2 separate regions of the Homo sapiens genome follow, and region 2 is linked to region 1. The links are contacts of gene promoters, found by promoter capture Hi-C in human tissues and cell types (Jung and others, 2019). All regions are on one chromosome and are shown on one strand. The core of a region is centred on a gene start or on the middle of the fragment in contact, and the rest is flanking DNA. Distances in the headings are between cores, read along the strand shown.

Region 1 (3,860 bases), core at 1,301-3,800:
GTGGTGTATGAGTCACCCAGCCTCAGAATCCCTTGGGGTATCTGTTAAAATGCAGGTGTCTGGGCCCTGCCATGGGCCTATAGAATCACAGTCTCTGGCGGATGGCACCAGAGTCTGCATTTTGTCAGCATCTGGGCTGGTTCTGATGTGCTTGAGGTTGCAGGGGGGCTGCTGAACAGGATGCACGCTCGCCTCTGGCACCTGCCCTCTGTCCACCCCGGCCCCGCCCCCTCTGTCCACCCTAGCATGAGCCCTCCGTCCACGTTTGGACACCTTCCTACCTCAGCCTCCATTCCATCTACTTTTGGCAAAAATCTCTTAAGAATCAAAAAACAAGAGTTTTATCCTCTCCGTATCCTCAGCCGGCAAGGTAGATAATTATCCCGTTATACAGATGAGAAAATGAGGATGACTTGCTGATGTCACACAGCTAGAGCAGAGCCTCCGGAGAGGAAACCTGTTGGTATCTTGATTTTAGCCCTGTGAGACCCAAGTTGAACTTCTAACCCAGAGACCTTCTAGCTTTGAGCACTACATTTATGGTCACTTTCTTTTTTTTTCTTTTTGAGATGGATTTTCCTTCTTTTCGCCCCGGCTGGAGTGCAATGGCGCAATCTCGGCTAACTGCAACCTCCGCCTCCCAGGTTCAAGCGATTGTCCCGTTTCAGCCTCCCGAGTACCTGAGATTACAGGCATCTGCCACCACTCCCAGCTAATTTTTGTATTTTCAGTAGACATGAGGTTTCACCATATTGGTCAGGTTGGTCTTGAACTCCTGAACTCAGGTGATCCACCCGCCTCGGCCTCCCAAAGTGCTGGGATTACAGGCGTGAGCCACGGCGCCCAGCCCCTGTGCATCTCTTTTGCCCTATGGCTGACTCTCAATCCTCCCCACCCGGTTGACAGTCATCTCTGCAACTCTCCCTCTTTTCCACTTGCAACTTCCAACCTCCCCAAGTGCTGAGCACTCCAAGTAGTCTTTCTAATCCTCTCCCTGCTTTCTCTTAGCTGTCCATTATGTAGATAAACTTAAATTTTCTGCTTACTTTATGTCACTTCCTACAGCCACAATAGGAAAGTCTGATGCCAACGTTGGCTACTCTCTTCATTACTGGGTTCTATTGACTCGCCTTTAACCGCTGAGCTTCCACTGGGAGTTATGTGCCTGTTTCTGACTTCTTCACTATATGGTGTCTCTAATCTCCATCCTCTGCAGCTTCTACTGCAGGGCCTCTGCCCTGGCTGTTCCCTCTACCTAGAAAGCTCTTCCACCAGATATCTGAATAGCTTACTCCTTCATGCCTTACGGGCTTTTGCTCAAGTATCATCCAATTTAAAGTTAAAATCACCCACCACTGCTGCATGCTCCTAATCCTAGGCATTTTTCCTAGGCATTAATTTTTCCTATGGCATTTACCACTATGTGGCATACTATATATTTTACTATTTACTTGTTTCTTGTAAAATGCATTAGGGAAAGGATATTTATTTTGTTTTTTAAATTTTTATTAATTTTTTTTTTTGAGACAGAGTCTCGCTCTGTCACCTAGACTGGAGTGCAGGGGCGTGATCTCACTGCAACCGTCGCCTCCCAGGTTCGAGAGATTCTCATGACTCGACCTCCCAAGCAGCTGGGATTACAGATGCCCACGATGATGCCCGACTAATTTTTGTATTTTTAGTAGAGATGGGAGTTTCACCATCTCTATCCTATGTGTGATACTGTCCTATCGTGTGATTTCATGTGTCATGTACACTAGATGCCAGATTTGTTAACAGAGGTCGATAGTGCTAAGACTTTCTATTACCGTGTTGCAGTGATGATGAAAAGGAAGAAGTATACCTGTTGTGTGTTCATAAGGGAAATATTTTTAGTGTTTCACAACTAAAATCCCTAAATCAATCTGGAGCAGAAAAAAAATCATCCATTTCTCCAGTTCAGAAAGATGCAGTATTTTGAGCACTTGTTAATGAAATTTCCAGAAACAGAAGGGATTGTTGCCATTTTTCTGATGTCCTGGAGGGTGTAACAAATGAGGAACTTTACCAATCAGCTTCAAGATGAGGAATTTAAGACATTTGGCATCATCACAAGTCACAGGTCATCAGAAAAAGACAGGTTTAGAAGACTCGTTACACACATACTCCCAGATGTGCAGGTTAAATTCCAGAAGCTGAATAATAACTGAAATATTTGTGCAAATGTATATGTCAACTTCCCAGTTCCAAATACCATTCCAGTTTTTAGAACCATAAAGTTCTTCCCAGTTATAAATTTTGCATAATTTAAATATTTTATATTTTCACGATTGTCCTAATTCTTTGACAGTAGGGGTCATTGTCTTAAGTTGTTGACAAGCGCCTCATAACGGGTATTCAAAAATTTCTTTCAAGTAAAATATTTATAAAGTTCACTTTATGCTTATAAACTGCTGCGTTGCCCTAGACCGCCCGCACAAGCCCTTGGAGCACAACTTGGTCAGCGCAGAATTTGGTTCCTATCAGCTTCCGTAGCGTCCCTAACGACTTCCGCCTCTGGCGGGCCGCAGTGGTGGAGGAACTTCCGGCAGCGGCAGCTCAAGTGGCCAAGGCAAGATGGTGAGTGACTAAGGGTTTCTTTCCGCTGGTCGTCGCGGTGCGATGGGGTCTCAGCAGCCTGAGGCGAGAGAAAGAGGCGGCTGCCCGAGGAACTGGGACAGCCCTCTTCTCCTTTTGCCGGCCTGATCTTCTCGGCGGGTGGAGGCTCCCAGAGACCGCGCTCATGTCCACCGCGGGCCGGGGCCGACCAACGGGCCTTGCCCGGGGATCCTGGGGCCGGGGCTCAGAGCAGAGAGAGGGTCTCCTGCGTGGTCTTGTGGGGCGGCAGAACGGATCAGGCCGCTGGCTTTGCTGCTCCGCCGACCAGGGCTTTGCTGATCGGCGCTGGGAGTTTCGGGGGCGCCTCCTCGAGTCACCGGGAAAAATGCTTTTTGAGTCGGGCAGGTGAAGGGTGCTGGAGAAGAGGGTGGGATTCATTCCACCTGAGGAGTTGAGCGCGGAGTCGTGGAAGGCCTTTCGGAGCTGGGGGCATTTGAAGGAGGCCTTAAAGACGTTGTTATGACAGGCGGAGCTAAGACGGAAAGGGCCCGTGGTGCAGTAGTAATAATAAAAACAGCTAGCATTTATTCATCAATTCACTAAACAAGTATTTACTGAGCACTTGGTGTTTTGTTGTTGTTGTTAAACTTTTGGCTAGCTTCTGTTGTAGACACTGAGGATTGATTGAAGTCCCTGCCTTCATAGTGCGTACATTCTAGAGCAGAAGGCAGACAATCATCAGAAATATGTAATATGATGTCAGGGGTGGGGTGGTCATTGTTGTATGGTTATTGTATAGAAAGGGATAGCTTGGAGGAGTGGCTGCTTTTTATAGAGTCAGCGAAGGTAGCTCTGAGGAGGTGAAATTTGAGCGGACCGAAATTGAGGGAGTAACCCCTGCAGATGTCTGAGGGAAATGTGGTCAAGGCAGAAGATACAGCAAGTGCAAAGGACCTGAGATGGGAATGTTTAACCTGTATCATGAACGGCAAGAAGGCCAGATCTCATAGAGGTCTTTTTTATTTTAATTTTAATTTTTATTTTTTTGAGACGGAGTCTTGGTCTGTCGTCCAGGCTGGAGTGCAGTGGCGCGATCTCCGCCTCCCGGGTTCAAGCGATTCTCCTGCCTTAGCCTTCCAAGTAGCTGCGACTATAGGCGCCCGCCACTACGCCCGGCTAATTTTTGTATTTTTGTAGAGACGGCGTTTCACTCTGTTGGCCAGGCTGGTCCTGAACTCCTGACCTTATGATCCGCCCGCCTCGGCCTCCCAAAGTGTTGGGAT
Region 2 (3,789 bases), core at 118-2,617, 58 kb after region 1:
ACAAGAAGGTGACAAAGTAGTCAAAACAGCCATTAACTGTTGTTCCATCTCTGCTTTTCAGCTCTGCCCAGGTACAAATAAAGATTTTGGAGGCTTCTTAATTATTCTTGGCAGGGAATATAAGGGAATGGCATTTCAGGAACACTAAGTAGCTATTCAATAAATAGTTGTTGAATGATGAGCCTCAGGTTAATGTATGGAGATTTTAACACATTTCCCAACTGCAGAGGGCTTCCTGTCTACAAAAACCATAACGGGCAATGAAAAGATGGAGAGCCTACTGCAAACTGATTGATGCATTTGAGAAATAAATGGAAAGCCAACTGGGAGAAAAAAAGGAGAAGCCAGCTGCAGACCGCCCCTGAGGAGTCAACAGGCCCTTTCCTCTCCCCTCGGCGGTACTGAGCTAAGGAAGCAGGATATGGTAGTCTGGGCTGTGTGCAAGGAAGGAGCTGCCTCCACCTGAAGGTGAGGGAAAGCTCATCCCAGAAACTCAAGGTCAATTAGTAGCTGTGGCCTCTGGGGAAGTCATTTGTCATCACCCTGAAACAGAGTCTCATAGGGTCTGCTACCCTCACGAACCCACTTTCCTGACATCACAGAAAGACTCTCACAATTCACTAATATTGTAGTCCTTGTCTATGTGGAAATAAATAATTCTTCCAGGTCACCTTCTTGGGAAGAGAATACATAAGTTAATAACAAGACAGTAAAAGAGAAGGACAAGAACAATCTTAATAAGGATATTCTATAAAATATCAATAAACTTAAAAATGCTATCTGGATCATAAAACTATCAAGAGGCTGTAAAGATTCCCTGACATGATTAAGCATAGGCTGAAATTAACTATCCTTCAAGTTCTAAAGATAGTTCCTGTGTGGTTTCAGGAAATCCTTTAAAACTCATTTTCCCCAGCTATAAAAAAGGACAAGTAGCTAGAAGTTGAGTTTTGGGAAGACGTAACAATTAAAGTAGCTTGCTTTAAAGACACAGTAAAAGGTAAGGACACCAATAACATATTCATTCATTCATGTAACAAAAACAAATTCAGTGCTTACTCTGTAATGGGCCCTGTGCACCACGTGCTGTGGGAATATGGTGGTAAGCAAGACAGGCCTGATTCCTACCCTCAAAAATTCAGTCAAATTCAGAACCTTTTTGCCGGACTGCTTTATTTTTTCCTCTAAAGAGCAAGCTTGGGGGCTGGGTGCGGTGGCTCATGGCTGTAATCCCAGCACTTTGGGAGGCAGAGGCGGGTGGATTACCTGAGGTCAGGAGATCGGAGATCGAGACCAGCCTGGCCAACATGGAAAAACCCCGTCTCTACTAAAAACACAAAAATTAGCCGGGCGTGGTGGCACATGCCTGTAATCCTAGCTACTTGGGAGGCTGAGGCAGGAGACTTGCTTGAGCCCGGGAGGCAGAGGTTGCAGTGAGCCGAGATCGTGCCACTGTACTCCAGCCTGGCCGACAGAGCAATACTCTGTCTCAAAAAAAAAAAAAAAAAAAAAAAAAAAAAGCTTGGGTTACAAAAATTAGCTGGGTGTGGTGATGCATGCCTGTAGTCCCAGCTACTTGGGAGGCTGAGGCATGAGAATCGCTTGAACCCGGGAGGCGGAGGTTGCAGTGAGGCAAGATCGTACCACTGCACTCCAGCCTGGGTGATAGAATGAGACTCTGTCTAAAAAAAGGAAACAAAAATTCCTGAAGAGTTGCAAAAACCTCAACAGCACTATTTCTTTTTTAGAGATGTTCTAGACAGGTACCTAAGTTTTCTCCCTTCTAGACCATATGAGCAAATAAAGGAGAAAGTTAAATGAGCAATAATTCAGGTAGTTTCACCATATACCACCTGTCCCACCTACACGCAAATACCCCTCTACTTAGGAAGACATTCAACTAGGCACAGAGAAAAGGCTGTATTGAGCACCTATGCTGTGGCCATTCTGTAGAATGAATTGAACAATATGCTCAAGGTAGAAAGCAGAGTAGGCCACAGTGGCTCATGCCTGTAATCCCAGCACTTTGGGAGGCTGAGGCAGGTGGATCACCTGAGGTCAGGAGTTCAAGACCTGCCTGGCCAACATGGTGAAATGCCATCTCTACTAAAAATACAAAAAATTAGCCAGGCGTGGTGGCAGACGCCTGTAATCCCAGCTACTCGGGAGGCTGAGGCAGGACAATCGCCTGAACCCAGGAGGTAAAGGTTGTGGTGAGCTGAGATCGCACCACTGCACTCCAGCGTGGGCAACTGGAGTGAAACCCCGTCTCAAAAAAAAAAAAAAAAAAAAAAGAAAGAAAGCAGAGTAAAATATGGGAGAAATAAAGCCCCCAAGGAATGGAAACACTGTAATCATGAGCTGTTTTCCACTGCCTTCGACATAGTGGTCTTAAACAAATATGAAAAAGAAAAGGAAAAGGACAAATGTAACAATTATTTAAGTGCTACGTTAATCTTAAAGTGTGTGTGATCATGTATACACACAGGAGTTGATAGGAGTGACTGAATGAAAGATATATCAAGGCAGAGAAAGAAGATGTTTCTCCTACCCAGAGTGTGGAGACCCACGGCCCTCAGAGAGGGAACCGTTATCTATGTGATAACGGCACTGACTCACAGACCCACTGTGGCACATCTGCCATCTTTTGAAAATCCCAAAGACTTTTTGTCTAAAAGAGATTCACACAATCATTACTGTGTCTAAATAACATTTCTCAAATAAAATCGTGTCCCTAATTTTTCTCCTTCTCTTTTTTAAGCTGATATAATGGTAGAGCTCTCTTCCGACTGAGTGACTAAATGGTTATTCAAATATCTAATTTGCGGCAACAATTAAGGGAGAAAAACTCAAGACTTAAAATATCATAGGTGCTTGAGAACAGCAACCTACTTCGGTTCCTCAGATTCCTTTTTACTGCCTCCAACGCCTCTGGAAGGTTTGTCCTTTTCAGAATCGGTGTCTGTCTCAGACCTGCTGCTACTCGACGGCCCATGCTTCCTCTTTGTTTTCTTATGATGCTGATGCTTCCTTTTTTTCTTTTTCTCTTTCTTCTTTTTTCTACTTGTTTGTTTGAGCTTTTTGTTAGTGTCACTTTCATCTGAAGACTCTGATTTCAGATGACTCCTGTTTGGGAAAATCAACTTTAAAATTACTTTCTAAAAAGATGTAGGAAAAATAATACTATGTAAATAAGTCAACAAATATTTAAGATGGAACTATATAAATGTTCACACAGATTTACTATTTGCCCATATATTACACAGTAACTTACTGGATTACACCTCACCTGCAAGACTTAGGAATTGGATCTAAAATAATAACAGGTGAAGAAATTCCAATTTTAATAGTTTCTAAACCTATACTTTCTTATTTATACATCTTTAAATGAAAGTAACCTACCACTTAACAAATATAGTATTTTTAAGACATTATTAAAGGTTGGCTGGGTGTGGTTACTCATGCCTATAATCCTAGCACTTTGGGAGGCCAAGGCAAGAGGACTGCTGAAGGTGCTTGGGAGTTTGAGACAAGCCTGGGCAACGTAGCAAGACCTCATCTTTATTTTAAAAATAATAATAATAATTTTCAAAAAAAATCATTATAAAAAGGTTTATTTTCAGTGCCACATATTATGTCAACATGTTGTTAATAAAAAAACCAAAACATTTAATTGTGGTCCTTGTTTTTGGAGATGACAATGAGCTCTTCTTCCTCATTACTGAAATATCTAATATCTACCAACTTCCTCTCATACATCAACTCTTCTCAATTTCCAAAGGCTTCTTA

What was found. The method cuts DNA at HindIII sites, captures the fragments that hold promoters and counts their contacts. A contact is called where the count stands out against the background at its distance.
Region 2: a contact is called between a fragment that was not itself captured here and the fragment with the promoter of PSMC1 in region 1, in 1 of the 25 tissues and cell types used here (pancreas).

What each region holds. Positions count from the first base shown.
Region 1 is chr14:90,254,003-90,257,862 of GRCh38, forward strand. It overlaps PSMC1 (proteasome 26S subunit, ATPase 1), which reads left to right and starts at 2,551. Exons shown (of 11, transcript NM_002802.3): 1 at 2,551-2,598. The coding sequence starts at 2,596. RefSeq lists enhancers at 2,197-2,726, 2,602-2,841, 2,727-3,254. The HindIII fragment of the contact is 25,675 bases long and covers 1-3,860 here.
Region 2 is chr14:90,313,686-90,317,474 of GRCh38, forward strand. NRDE2 (NRDE-2, necessary for RNA interference, domain containing) reads right to left here. Exons shown (of 14, transcript NM_017970.4): 3 at 2,893-3,126. Among named protein-coding and RNA genes, the nearest start is that of NRDE2, 16 kb to the right of the region's middle. The HindIII fragment of the contact is 3,189 bases long and covers 1-2,962 here.